2 separate regions of the Homo sapiens genome follow, and region 2 is linked to region 1. Evidence: promoter capture Hi-C in human tissues and cell types (Jung and others, 2019). All regions are on one chromosome and are shown on one strand. Each heading gives the region's core, a stretch centred on a gene start or on the middle of the fragment in contact. The rest is flanking DNA. Distances are from core to core; before and after follow the strand shown.

Region 1 (7,440 bases), core at 4,161-6,660:
GAATTCAAATTACTCAGCCACAAGTAGGAAGGAAGGAGGACGGAGCAGCACCAGGCTTCCCATGGTGGTTCAGCCCACTGAGGAGAACAGGGTGCAGCCACCTGTCTTCTTTCACCTGCAGAAATCTAAAACTTCAGCTCATTCAGCAGCAAAATGGGCAGTTTTAGCTTCAGGAAGCTGTTTTGGAAGTCCAGGGGTGACAGCTGCCCCAGATGGCCTCGTCTGTGAAACCCCCAACTCTAGCCCAAGGCCCTGTGGCAGGGACGCTCTGTGCTCCAGGGCCTCCATCCAGACACCTGCCTGGTCCATGTGCAGGGCTTCTCAGGATGCACTTCACAGACACAGGGGCCGACACTGAGAATGCACATCTGCACTGTCCAGGTACAGTGACCCGAGCGGGCAGGACCACGCCACTGGCCAGCCTCCGGCCTCCACCATGGGCAACACAGATCCACTGGCCCAACCTCATGGCCAGGCACCGGCAGCAGCCTCTCCCAGTCAGCACGCTCTCCCAGTCAGCACCCCAGAGCCCCTGCTGCAGGACAGGGGATGCCTGCGGCTTGGTGGAGAGCTTGGGCGCACACACAGCCCTCAGTGGGCCCAAGGCCCAGGCTGGCACAGAAACTACATACATGGTATCCAACCCGTCCTATGGCTCTCAGGTGCTGGGCATCAGGTGTCATGCCCAGAGGTGACCTCGACGCCTCCCACAAGGGGGGATGACCAGGTGGCCTGGCAACTCCCTTCGGTTCCCTCTGTGCCTGAGCCTCTGTGCATGTCTGTGCTGGCCTCGCCACATGGCTGGGCCACATCCCAGGGTAGGAACACGGCTGCCTGTATCCAAGGGCCAGGCACACAGAGGGCACCAAAAAGAAAGCAAAGGGCAGCCATGACACACTGCAGCTGCCGCCGGCTCTGACACAAAGCCCCACATGGGCCTCAGCTCCATGAGGACACAGGGTCCCGGAACATGAGTCACAGAAGACAGAAGGTTGGCCCTCAGAGTCTGTGCTGGAGGCATCCCCAGGCACCCCTGCTCCCTTTGGAAGCTGCCATTCTCCTGGACATCTTGGAGTGGCTTGCACCCCCAAATGCAGAGCTGGGTGGACTGGGCACCCACAACCTCTCCTTCTGTGTGGCACGTGGCCGAGCACCAAGCAGAGTATGGTCCACACTGCCTTGTCTCTGGGCGCACGTGCACTGGCCCGAGTCTCTCCTGCAAATGTGTATCTTGCCCCCACCCTGCATCTCTGTGTTGATGCGGTAGCGTCCAGACTGTGCTTGAAGCCATGAAGAATTTTCCAGGATCTTCTACAAGAAACTGCTCCCACTGACCAAGAACTGGGCATCCCACTGCCACATCCAGCTCTCTGGACCCACAGAGGACAGGTGAGCGCTGGCTCCTGGGTGGCCAGGAGGGGCAGGGAAGGGGCAGGGAAGGGGCAGCCCCACCCCTGCCTCTGGGGGAAGGCCAGCTGCAGGCATATGAGCCTCTGGGGCACTGTGGCTGGTTCCAGTCGGAAGGCGTCAAGCCATGTAGTGGGGCTGAGCCCAGTTCCCGTGAGCAAGGCCATGCTGAGGGCAGATGGAGTTTGCTGCTGGAAGCCAGAGGCCAGTGCAGGTGAAGGCCTGGGCCCTGGCCTGGAGCTCAGCCCTGGACAGAGCCAGCAGGTCTTACGACTGTGGTCCTCCTGGCTCCCTTCCAGGAAACATGTACCATGTTGGCACACTCAGAAGGGCCGTGGCATGGGGATGGGACTGGCGAGTGCCTCCTGTAAGCTGGGACCTGCCCTAGACGGGCCACTCAGAGCCGTGCCTGCTGCCTCCTGCAGATGTGGGCAAGAGCCCCCCGTGCAGGCCAGGGCCACGGCCTCCTCCACGCACTGGCTGGTCTGTCACGAGTGTTCGCTACAATGCTGCCTCTGGAGTTAGCCCCAGCGCACCCTTCCTCAGCACTACTTCATGGAAGCCTGTGCTCCATTCACAACAACATTCCAGTTAACAGTGACTCTTGTCTTCAGAACCATTTTCCGCCAGCCTCAGGGAGCGCTGTAGAAATTAAAGCTAGTCTCGCAGACCAGATGGTGAGGGTGAGTGTGCAGGGGCAGCCTGTTCCCAGGCCTGAAGCCATCCTCCCTGCAGTCACTACCACTTGGAAAAACAGCCACACAAGTGCACTGCCACCATGGCACCACTCCTCACCCACGCACATCCCCAGGGACTCCGGATCCCTCACAATCCACTCTCCAGACCTTCACGGCACCGTCACCAGTGATCCCATGGCCCTAGCCCTTCAGGGACACTCGGTGATGAAGCCGTGCGGGTCCCGCCAAAAGCAAAGTGTGGCGCTCCGCAGAGTCGCCAGGGAGAGCCACGTCGGGGGTGCAGAGACACACCTGTCTGGGAAAGTGCTGCTGTTGGTGTTTTCAGACACGTACAGAGGCAGGAGCCAGCATTGCTCACAGGGAATTAATAATAGCCAATCTCATTTGTGTTATTTTGGGGGCTGGGGAGAGAGGGTAGGTCGGAGGTCTTGGCTCTTAGTGCGCCCAATCTCCACAGGGTTCTCTGCCACCGTTCTGTGGCACCCAGGATGCCTCGCACGGAACCAGGAGGTGGACTTTGGAGAAGGGAAGGAGTGAGTCCCCTCGCTGGCCCCAGCCAGGCATCACAAGGGGTGCCCTGGGTGACCCAGGACTGGCCCTCCTCAGTGGATACCACCTGGGAGGACAAGGACGATGGGCGAGGCTCTGGACAACACAAAAGAAGAAGGTGAGAGCCAGAGGGACACTTCGCTGTGGTGGCCTGCGACTCTCCTGGACGTCAGTAGGATCTGTCGCAGGGGGAACAGCTGCCAGGTGAGAGGAACAGCAATGTGGCAGGGAGGGCACTTGGCCAGGTGAGGGCGCACCTGGGCCCTGGGGTCTCCATGCCAGGTGGGAGGAGTCATGGCCAGAGGCGGAAAATACAGAAAGGCAGCACTTTTGTCTGAAAGCTGAAATGTATTTAATTCACAGGACAGCCTTTGATTCTGAGTTTGTTCATTTTAACTTAGAAAGGAGTTTTCTTTCATGAAATGATGGCAAAATTAGAAGGTAACAATCCAAGCAAGCCCCAATTCCCAAGCTATTCTCTAAAGAAAATGTCCCAGTGTAGAGTGGCAGGTCTAAACGCCCACGAGCAGCCCTCACGCTGACATCGTAGTCACATGAGGAGCACCTGCATTTTCCAGAGCGCACTGGCCTTGCCCCATGGCCCTGGGAGCTGCACTTCATGGTGAGGGCGCTGGCTCAGGGATTTTAAGGTTCATGGTGCAGCGCCTCCCAGGGAGAAGGCTCCAGGCCAGTGGGCCAATGGACAGGGGCCGGCCAAAGCCCTGACCACGAGAGAGGTGAACGCCCGCCCACCCCAGGTGCTCACATCACTGACTAATCATACCAGGAGCACCTGGCTGCTAAGTGGCACCATCCACTCACCAGCAAGCCCCTGTGCAAATGTAACTGGCAGAGAGAGCCAGATTGGGGCGGGGACAGCTCCCTGGATGACCTCACCCTGGTCTCCCTGTCCCGGATAGAGGCTCACAGGACCACCCAACTTACTGTACCTTACAGCGTGCTTCCCACCATCACAGGCGTTAGATGGTCACTCTCAGGAAGCACCAATCCTAACTCTATTGCATGTTAATTTCCAAGCAGACCTAAGCCCCTTCTCAAGACAGAGCTGCAGAAAATGTCTCCAAACACACCCAGAACTTTTTTTAATCAACTGCCAGAACAATGTCTTTCCAAAAAGGAAACTGATTGCGTGACCCGGCATGTTCTGTGTCTGGGGACCTCTGGGGACAGTGGGGGAGGAAGCAAGGGGCAAGTGTGGGCCTGGCCACCTGGTGGGGCTGTCTGCACCGATACAGTTCACACTGACACTGATGACCATCAAATGTTAGCTTTCTCACGCTCAGCAAACATGCAGGTCTAATTTACCCCAGGCCCTTCCAGGGCCCCAGACCTGGACAGTTCTCTGCTCCTGGACATAGCACCTTCCTCACCCACCCTCAGGGCCGCCTGGCTCTTGAGCCAGCCTTGCAGTCTCTGCAGCCTTGCCACAGCTGTGCAGATGTCCCTCTGTCTCCTGAGCCTCTAGCAGGCCTGTGGTCACCCCTCCCAGAGATGGGAGGCACCGAGGCCTCTGACTCTGGCCATGTTTGCTGATTGAGCACTGAGGCTATGACCAGTGATGCCCCAGGTCTGTAGCTCCCACCCCTCCTCCAACTCCTCCAGCTCATCCAGCCGGGGTACTGCATTCCCGCTCCCCGGGACCCCCAGCCCGGGACGTCTAGGTCCAGCCCCTCCCACTCGCCCAGCTCCTCCAGCCCGAAACATGGAGCCCCCACACGGCTCCCAGCCTAGGACAAGGAATTCCGATTCCCCTACCCGCCACTCAGCATGGGACACTAGCAAGGGCTCGCCCCACGGGAGCCCCAGACGTCGTGGAGGCTGGGGAGAGACTGGCTCTCCTGGCCCCCGGTCACTCGTGCGGCCATGGCGGCCCACGTCTCGCCTGTCCGCGGGCGGGCACCAGGAACAGCTCTGACACCGCTCCCCGCCCCCGGGCGGGTGCGCAGCGCGACCCCAGCCTCCGCCCCGCCGCCTACCTGCTTGTCCCGCGCGCGCCGCTCCGCTTCCTCCGCGCCTTTGCGGCCGCTCGCGTACGCGGACGCCACGAAGCTGTCCCCTGCGGTCCGGGGGCGGACGCGCGGGAAACCCGCACCGAGGAGGGAAAGAGACGCGCCGTGAGCCCCGCGGGCGCTGCGCCTTCGCTGTGTCCCCATCGCCTGGAGACCGCGCAGGGGCAGGCGTGGGGGTCCCGCGCGCTCCTGGAGACCCGCGGCCCCGTCCCCCCACTGCTGGCTCCAGGGCAGGACGCGCGCGGGCTCCTAGCTCTGAGGGTCCCGGGCCGGGTCGCCGCCCCCCGCCCCGCCCGTCGGCTCGCCCGCTCACCTTCCGGGCTCTCTCTCCGCTTGCGGGCGGCGGCGGCTGCGGCACGGCGGGACGCGGGGAGAGGAAAACGACAGTGAGAGGCGGCCCCACGCCCGCCCGCCCGCCCTCCCGCCCTACCGGCCCGCGGCTCACCGTGCTTCGACTGCAGTTTCCCCATCGCCGCCGCCACGCCCCGCCGGGCCCCGCGCTCAGGTGCAGGGCTGAGTTCTGAAGCCGGGGCCGGGAGCCCGCGGGGGCCGCATGGGCCGGGAGCAAGCTAGGGTGCCGGTAGGAGGTGAGGGAAGATGGCTCCACGCCGCGCGGGGGCCGGGGGAGCCAGGGGGCGCCAGGTACGGCCGCGGGGCGGAGGTGGGGGGCCACCGGGCGCAGGGCGCGGGGACAGCGGCGGCAGCGACGGCGGCCCGGCTCCCTCTGAGCGCGTGCGCCCGCGCCGGGGCTTTAACCGCGGCCCCCGCAGCGCCCCCGGCGGCCGCTGCCCGCAGCGCATCGGCCTCGACCCCCGTTCCCAGCCTGGAGCCCCACCAGCGATGAGGACCCGGCCCGGCCACCTGTGGGGGCGGTCAGGTGCTGCAGCGGAGCCTGGCGGGAGTCAGCTCCGACCCCTCACCAGGCCGTCCTGGGTCAAGGGATCCCCAATTCCAGAGGAGCCTGAGGGCACCTCCCTTTGAAAGGGAGGACCCGCCTCCCTTGGCTGCTGGAGAGGGGGTGGGGGTGTGGGCAGCCCAAAGGGGGGTGGTATCCGGCAGGACTAGATCCCCGCCCTCTCCTGGCGCTCCAAATTGATGAAGAACCAGCGTTGGCCCCCCCCGGCCCCGGCTGGAAGGGCCCTGCACCCCCTCACTTTGTCCTTGGTTTGAGCAGGGTCTCCTCCGACCTGTGCCTTGAGGGTGTTGGAGCCTCCCAGGAGCCCCAAGCCTGGCCACCTGCGCTGCCTCCTCCACGTGTCCAACTCAGTGGCTTCAGCTGCTACCTCCCTGGCCTCATCTCAAGCTCCTCCAGCTGGCTCTGGAGACCCGTCCCTCAGTACCCTTCACTGGACCCCCTCTCTGCCTCCTACCCTGCTGGGTACCTCAGGGCTCTCTTCCTTATTTACCTTCAGAGGAACCTTCTTCCCTCACTTCCTCCTGGAACCCTAACTTGCTCCTGTTTCTGGGACATTTCTCCCTTCCCTACCCATGACTCTCCTCCCTGCCACGCCCTGTTGCATTGATACATTGTATCTCCCCAGCCTTTCAAGAGCTAGCTCAGCATTTTCCCCACGGGCTGTTGCCACGCCCACGTCTCCAACCTCAGTGGGTGACCCCACCTTCTGCCAGGGCAGCTCCCGTCCCTGGAGTTGGAGCTCCGAGGCTGGCGGTGCGGGACCCCTCACCTGCCCAGCTCCGGCCCTGCCAGGCCTCCGCTAAGCTGGCCCAGGTCCCACCCGGTCTCTCTGTTCCCACTCCCCTGGCTGGAGCCCTGTCTCACAGCTGAGCAGCGCAGCTCCGCGGCTGCCCAGTGCTGACTTGCACCTCTGGAGCTGACGTCCAGCCAAGCCCTTTCACTCCAATTACTGCCTCCCATTCTCAGACCATCCTCGGGGCAGATGCCGCCATCACACGATTTTACAGAGGCCTAGGCTGCTCAGTGGCAAAACGGAAAGTTAAACCAGAGGCCCGCCCCCCACCCCAGCAGCCTCCCCTGCTGGCTGTCCGCAGATACATGAGCTGTGGGCGAGCACATGAACAAGGGCACACGGACCCTCCTGGGAGTAGTCTTGCCTGCGAGCCATTCCCACCATCCTCTGAAGAACCCTAGTGGAGGGGCCACTTCCTGCAGGCAGACAGCTCTGGCACCTGGTAGCAGGGTTGCACCCGGCCAGGCCGTGCCTGCGATGGGCTCAGAGCGCCCTTGTGTATAGCGTCCAGGCGTCCAGATTCAGGGCCAGGGCCACCCTCCCAGGCTCTTTCGGCCCCTCCTCTCTCCCTTGCGCTACCCCAAGTGGACTTTAACTCCCAATTTGGAAGGTAACAATGCCATCTTCTGTGGTCTCAGGGTCCTAGTGAGTGTGTGAGGATGATAGTGTTACATGTTATGCAAAGTAGCACAGCCTGAGGATTGCAGCCCTTCCCGTGCCTCTAAATCCTGCCCTTACATGAGGACCGATGAGCCACCCTGGGTGAAGATCTGCTGGTGGGCTCGTGTCCCCTGTGTGGCTGGGAGCCTTGCCTCACACATGCATGGGCCCTCCTCCCAAGACCCCGAGAAGGTCCCACTGGGGGAGGTTGGCTGAGGTGCCCCAGCCAGGTGGGGAAGGGCCATTGTGTTTCACTCCTCTGCTGACTGAGCTCTGGTCCTTGCTAAATGCAGATGTCAGGAGGTCTGGGGGAGGAAGTGTCCTGGGAGGACAGGTGGAGGTGGGGGGTGGGGGCGGGCCATGGCACCAACCCCACACCCTACAGGG
Region 2 (7,276 bases), core at 3,890-6,389, 50 kb after region 1:
GGCTTCTGAAACATGAAACAACCCCACACCTAGGGCAGGGCGTGCAATGCCACCATGGCCTGGAAGACCCAAGAGTGATGAGTGCTGAGCACAGGCCAGGCCCGGGGCTGTCACGGGCAGAGCCACTGGCCCGGCGTGCAGGTGGGAAGGAGGTCTCGGTAACTAAGCATTCGCATGATTCTGTCCTCTGAGGACTGGGGCAGGTGCTTCCTCTACCTCCCAGCAGCCTCCCTAATTCCAGAAGAATAAGAACAGGGGAGAGGAAGCCAGTGCAAGGGCTCCCACCTGCTCCCTCCAAGCCAGAGGTGCTGCCTCGGTTCTTCACTTCCAGCCAGGCCATGCCTAGCAGGCCTTCGTCCAGTCCACGCGTGGCAGCGCTTGGCCTGCCTCAGGCCTGTGTCCTCAGGCATTGTTCCCTCCTGTGTCTGCCCTTGTCTGGGGAGTATTTTCTGTCCTCGCTTCAAGTCCCTGAGAGTCTGCCTGGCACCCTGACCCATTCTGCCAGCCCAGCCAGTCCATACCAGGGAAGCTCCAAGGGTGGGCCTGGGTGGGCCGTGCCCTGGAGGAACACTTCTTGTGGCCCAGATGAACGCCGTGGGTGTGGGGGCCATGTGGACGGTGGTGGGTGAGGCCGGGGGTCCCCACAGCGAGGGCTTGTGGGTCTTGGTGCTGCTTCCATGTGGAGGGGAACTGAGGTCTAAGGTACAGCCCAGGTCCCAGGCCGGGTCACCCCCGTCCACCCTGCCTGTCTTCCGTGTGCTTGGGGAAGTGGAGGCAGCCCTGCCGAGGCCCCACGTCCTCTGTCACCTTTGCAGACTTTGGCACCCCGTGATGCTACCGTCCTGAGTGCCCCGGGGCCTGGCTGGTGTAAGCGTCTTCCTGAATTCCCTCTTTCATTCAAGCTCTAGAATTGGGCGCCACTCTGTGCCAGGCGGCTGGGGCTAGACCCCGCTCCCCGGCTGATGCTGTCCTGCCCCAGGGATGCCTGGCCAGGCTCTTGCTGTGTCCACCACGCTCCATCCACACCCCTCCATCACATTTCACCAGGGGCCCGGGCCAGAGACGCATCCGACATCCCATCTGGGAACAACGGCCTCAAAGAATGGGGAGCAGCGAGGGCCGCCAGACACTGAGTCCTTCTGGATCTTTCTGGCCAGGCTCCTTCCCTGGCATCTGGGCTCGGTGGGGGTGGTCTGCCCCCTCATTCCCGCAGACCCTGGCCCCTGGCAGGGCCCCCAGTCTCCACCTGCCCTGTCTGTTTCCTCCCCAGTGTAACTATGCTGTAGAAATATATTTTGGCCACACCCTGCATGAAGGTTCCAGTCTCTGTGTCTGTGGGAAGGGCTAATCTGCGGCAAGAAGTGGTCCCTGGGATGGAAAGATCCTGACACAACGGAGGTTTGTGTCCTGCTCATGCAACGGCTCTGCCTGGTGAGCCTGGCTTCCTGGCACTCACGCCCTTGCGGTTTCTTCCACGTAGTCCCAGGTGAGTCTGTGCGGCCGACAGCATGCGGCAGAGTGCAGATGGGTCACTTCCGAAACTGGGCTGGACATGCCAGGTCTCCCTCCTGGTTGCTCTGTCTCCTGGGTCACGGGCTTGGGTGAAGCCAGCAGCCATGCCGTGGGAACTCAGGCGACGCGAGAACAGAGCGATCTCCCGAGGTGCACGGGACTCCAGACAACAGCCCGCAAGGACCAAAGCCTGCCAGCAGCTGTGCAGGACCCTCGAAAAGTCTCCTGGGGCCAATAGAGCCCTCACACGGCAGCAGACTCTGGGGGCCTTGGGAGGAGTGGCTGCATTTTGCTGGGAGAATCACAGAATCTCTGGGGCCTGAGGGCCCGGGACGGCCCAGAGACAAGGAGGTACTCAAAGCTGTGTGTCGTCCTCCCATGCCGGGCCAGGTGTGTCCATGTGACCAGAGCACAAGTGGATGCCACTCCTGAGTCCAGGGCCTGAAGGACCCTGTGGCTTCCCTCTGGGTCACTCTGTCTGCCTTGGGTCACTCGTCCTGAAGGAAGCCAGCCACTGCGTGCGGGGCCCTGCGTGGAGAGGCCCTCATGGTGAGGAGACGTCCGGCCCACAGCCACGAGGAGCCGCGACCTGCCAGCACTGGGGGTGAGCTTGGACCTGCCCCTCCAGCCCTGTGGAGGCTTCAGAGCCATGGCCTGGGACAGCTGCTCAGCTGAGCCAGACCCACCCAGCCAAGCCCTTCAGAACCCCGTTGAGTTTGGGGGTCATTTTTCTGCGGCAGTGTGGACCACCAGGAAGGACATCCTTCACGCAGACCCGCCGTGGCAGAGGCTTCACGGTCTCTGGGGCTGTTGTCTCCCCACCAGCTGGCCCACAGGTCCCAGAGGGACACGCAGGAAGACTCTTTCGCCCGTCGGGAGTGGCTCACCTCCCGTCCCCTGGATTCTCTGGAAGGACAGTGGCCTCATGGCCACGCCCGTGTGTGAAGGCTGCTGAGGAGAGCAGCCTGGCTGGGTTCCAGAGGACGAAGCAGGTCAGGAAAGAGACGGAGAAGGGGGAGCAGCTTGGCAAGTGGTCCCACGGTGGGCCCCCAGGGATCTCCCTGGAAGCTGTGGCAGCTGTGCTGCCGTGGAGGGCGCCTTGTCCTCACCAGATCCTGTGGCCTCCCTGGAGGGTGGAGTGTGTGCTGGCACCAAGGTGACGGAAAGGCCCCCCTCCATTACAGCATTGCACACATTTTTAATAGGAAGATACAAAGTGGTGTCAAAGGCCCACTGAGAAGACAGCTGAAGCTTGGCCACCCCACCTCCCACGCAGAGCCAGGCACTAGGGCAGAGGCTCCGGCTCTGAGTCCTGGCACCCCTGGGCCCTCCGTCATCATCACATGGGTGACATGGGAGGAGGTGGCCGAGGTGAGAAGCCCAGCCCATGTGGCCACTGTGAGTTGTGGGTGGGGAGGAGGCCTCTGCAGGAGTGGCAGGGCAAGGGCAGGCAGCAGCAGAGTCGCAGCCCAGGGCTGGCGTGAAGCAAAGCAGGAAAATCACATTATTCAGTTGCTTTAAAAATAACAGCATTTACAGGGCAAAACGGGGTGGCCCAGGTTTAAAAGAAACCACCTGTCTGTTCTGACGGTCAAAGCGTGAGGGAAGCCAGTGGTCCAAGCAGATGGAGGCGTCCGGGTCTGGGCAGGAACGTGTCTGCCACGTGCGGTCTGGGTTCAGGTGAATCAGGGAAGAGGAACCCCAGGGGCAGGAAGTGCTGGGGACGCCCCTGTGAGGCTCTGGGTCCAGCCTGCTGAGAAGGGGTTGCCAGGGGCTGGGGCGGCTGCCTGGACTCCCTGAGAATCCTGCAGCCCGGCTGACCTGGGCGCTCATACCAGGTGGGGTGGGGTGGGGAGGGCACACCAGGCGGGCACACACCCAGTGGGAGGGCACACCGGGAGGGCAGGCACACCGGGCAGGGCAGGCACACCGGGCGGGGGACACTCACTGGGAGGGGGGCCCTCACCACGCAGGGCAGGCACACGGGGGGGACACTCACTGGGCAGGATGGGCACACTGGGTGGGGCGGGCACACCAGGCCGGGTGTGCATGAGACAGCAGCCGCTCTGGAGAAGCGCAAAGCCTTTAGGATCTTAGTGTGATCTCACGTGTGGGTTCACGAGTCCTGTCCCATCCTGGTCATGGTGTCCAGAAAAACAGGACGGCGCATAAGTGGCCCTGCTGCTTTTGTGAGGACGAGGGAGCTTCAGGGGGTGAGAAGGGAATGGTGGGTGTGGCGCAGGAGATGGGCCAGCAGAGGGACGTCCGACCTGGGCAGCAAGCAGGAGAGCCCCAGAGGTCACCTCCATCGGAGACGCAGGCACGCCCTTCCCCACCTGCAGCCCTGGGCTCTCTCCGCGGCATCGGAGTGTGAGGGGAAGAGCTGCCTCTGAAACCCCCCACCGGCCCCACCATCTTATGGCGGCCCCGCTGACTGCCCCGCTGACCCCCCGCTGACCCCCCGCTGACCACTGGGGCCGTGGTGCCTCAAGCCTCGGCCGTCGCCTTGAATTTGGGCCCGGCTGGCAGTGCCCTGACTTGGCAACGAGACGCTGCCCAAGTCTCAGATATTCGATGCCTCACATTGCCAATATGGAGTCATTTCCCACATGGGGAAACTGAGGCACAGGGGGCACCCGGGCATTGCGGCACCTTGTGACCCAAGTCCCCATAGCGGCTTGAGGTCTACGGTCATCTCTGTCCCAGCCCCATGGTGGGGGAGTGGCCACTTGGGCTTTGGAAAGGGTACTCGTTTGGAAGGAGGCTTGCCTGTTGCGTGAGTGTGAGCTCAGATGGACTTGGGGGCCGATGGGGCCTTGTCACGTGGGGGGCAGGGCTGGGGGTGGGGAGCCGAGCTCGGCCCTTGGCAAAATGCCCAGAGATTTGTCAAGCGCAAGCACTGGCGTTCTCTGTCCCTTATGCTTACATTATTTGAATAGAAGAAGGCCAATCACATCGCTTCCCCAGGTGTGAATCACTGCCTACTTGGCAGGGACCGCAACCTTGGTTTGGCCTTTGGACACCGCACGCACATGTCATGACCCTCCTGGCTTTGGGAACGTGGTGTCCGGCTTACGGCTTGGGGTCCCCGTGCCAGGGAGCACTGAACGCAGCCGCCCACGTGTGGACTCATCGGACAGAGTGCGGCTGCTCCGTTTCCCATCCGCGCTGTTTTTTGTGCCCCTGGCCAGCAACGCCTTGGCGGGAACACCCAGTCCCTCCAGAACCGCCGAAGCTCCCCCGGCGCCTGCTCCCGGCCTGCGGGCTCCCAGCGCCACATCCTCCCCCAGGCACGGCTGTTGCCAGGCATCTGCACGGCCCTAGTCCTGAACCAAACCGCAACGGCAGAGCTGAGCACGTACCTGCGTCTGTTTGGTTTGTTTCCCAGGAGTCCGGCTCCAGATTAAAGAACCGTGTGAGGCCGCACTTTGCTTTTCGGGTACACGCCTCTGCACACTGTGTGTCTGGTGGAGGGCAGGGTCCTGTGGTTTCCAGCAAAGCCGACCTCCATGGAAACGCAAGTGGAAAATGCTTTCTTGAGAAAGTTCCAGTCAATGACAAAATGGCCCTTCCCCAAATGCCGTAGTCTCTCGCTGAGACCCTGTGCCAGCGTGGGGAGGTGCCCTTCCCTGAGTGCCGCAGTGTCCCCTGTGCTGAGACCCTGTGCCAGCGTGGGGAGGTGCCCTTCCCTGAGTGCCGCAGTGTCCCCTGTGCTGAGACCCTGTGCCAGCGTGGGGAGGTGCCCTTCCCTGACTGCCGCAGTGTCCCCTGTGCCAGTGTGGGTGTCCTCAGGGCTGAGCAGGGGCCCCGTGGCTGGAACTTTGTCACCTTTTGAGCCAGACAGCCTGCGAGGGAGACTCCCGGTGGTCACCACCACAGCAGGTGGCAGCCATGCGCCAGTTCTCAGCCCCGTCCACGCCTCATAGTGTTACGCACGAACCCTTCATCCTGCTCCAAACAGAATGAGAATGTCATGTCGCAGCCTTGTCTAGAAAGCTCACCAGAGAAGGGGGGTAAAAGCAAGTCCCTGAAAAGTCACAAGAAGACGACCCTGTGTGAGCAGTCCCTGACCCACTGATTTGACGTCCAAAATGGCTTCCACACTGGATTTCCTGCTTCCCCACACCCTCAGCTTTGGCTTAGGGCCAAAGCCATTCTAGCCAGAGCCGTGGGTCCTTCCCATCAGCAGGCCTTGCTTCCTGCTTCCCGCACTTCAGAGATGGGCGCCGACCACACAGGGCAAGGGACACGCTGGGTGCCCTCAAGAGGAGTGGGTGGAATGGCCCAGAAATACCCCAAATAAATAAGGCTGGGCATCGGTGGCAAGGATGGCAGAGGGGCCAGTGAGCCACTGCTGAGCGCAACCTGGGCTGGGCTGGACAGACGCTTGAGGAGGCCAGGTGGGCAGGGACAGGGGACACAGAGAAGGCTGCGGTGCTCAGGGAATGAAGCCAGCATGACCGGACGTCACCCCTTGGCCAGGCTGCACCAGGCCCTGAGCCACATCCCCTGCGAGGTCAGACCACAACCCAAACAGTTGTTTGATCTTAAAACTAAGCCTGTGTTTGTAACAGGAAACCAGCCCCAGCATGGCTGGGGTGAGTCGCATTAAACTGTGGTGCGTGCCACAGAAAACCTCAAAGGAACGAGGGCACGGTCCAGGGATGCTCCCTGCTTGGAACAGGAGCTCCGGGCCGGGCGCGCAGGCAATCCCAGGGGCGTCCAGAGGAGGCGCCACACCTAAACCGACCCTGGCGGGGTGACCTCAGCCTTTGAGGGTTCTCTTGGCCCCGAGGTCAGTCCCAGGGCACAGATCCATGGGGCTGCCCCGAGCCAGCTCTGAGGATTGGATGGGCTTCCCCCATTGTCTGGGGACCCTGACGAACACCACAGTCATAAAGCGCCTTTCATTTTCCTTTCAGGTCTTTTAGCTAAAATGCCACAAGAAAGGGGACTACGGCCCAGTCCCAGGCTAAGCGCGCTGCACAGCCCCCACTGGGCCTCTGCTTGGCCCAGATAACTGGAAAACATTCCAGGAATCTCAGCATTGCGGTTTTGTTTCCTCTTGGCTTTGTGAGAGTTTAAGGAATGTGTAATTATTTATGAAATGCCAGTGTCCTGGCCACAGAAGCCCCGATTGAAGAGAGAACCAGGCAGATGCAGAGCCATTCTTGGCTGGAGCTTTGAGCCCCACCGACTTTCCCTGCCATGATGCTGGGAATTTCTGCCCCACTCATGGGCATCAGAACTCCAAGGTGGAGCAGGACCTAAATAGACTGTAAAGGGAGGTGGAACCGAGATCCATGTGCGTGTTCAGAATTCAAGTAGGGTGAGTGGGTTTCCTCCCTTCACGTCCGCCCCCAACCCTGAAGAGTCCTTTGGGGAGTGCCGGCATCTCCTGCAGGAAGCCCGCCTCCCCTGGCCCTTCCGAGGTCCTGAGCCATGCTGGAGGGTCTTCAGCCCCCAGCCCTGCTGGGCTTCAGCTGCTGTGGGACTGCAAGGTGGGGTGGAGTTGCCCTCAGAGGGTGCCGGGTCTTCACGGGTGAGTTGAAGACCCCGTGGACGCCGCGTGTCAGAGCCCTGGGAGGGGGTCTCTGAGGTTCAAGATCTCAGTGGAGCTGCCGTTCTTTCTGGGACATCTCCTGGGTACTTGGCGAGAGAGCAGAGGTCAGTCAGAGGCGCCTTGGCCAGCACCAGCCCCTCACTCCCCGGCTATGCGGTAGCCCCTTCTGGTCCCCAGCTGTCACCTCCACTTGGGGCCCAG

Evidence for each region. The method cuts DNA at HindIII sites, captures the fragments that hold promoters and counts their contacts. A contact is called where the count stands out against the background at its distance.
Region 2: a fragment that was not itself captured here is called in contact with the fragment with the promoter of NKD2 in region 1 in 1 of the 25 tissues and cell types used here (lymphoblastoid cells).

What each region holds. Positions count from the first base shown.
Region 1 is chr5:1,006,772-1,014,211 of GRCh38, reverse strand. NKD2 (NKD inhibitor of Wnt signaling pathway 2) reads right to left here and starts at 5,410. Exons shown (of 10, transcript NM_033120.4): 1 at 5,130-5,410; 2 at 4,998-5,033; 3 at 4,652-4,731. The coding sequence starts at 5,154. RefSeq lists enhancers at 5,383-6,148, 6,149-6,914. The HindIII fragment of the contact is 40,301 bases long and covers 1-7,440 here.
Region 2 is chr5:956,353-963,628 of GRCh38, reverse strand. LOC124900931 (a long non-coding RNA gene) reads left to right here. Exons shown (of 2, transcript XR_007058676.1): 2 at 903-1,311. Among named protein-coding and RNA genes, the nearest start is that of LINC02982, 37 kb to the left of the region's middle. RefSeq lists enhancers at 1-39, 2,714-2,953. The HindIII fragment of the contact is 8,141 bases long and covers 1,069-7,276 here.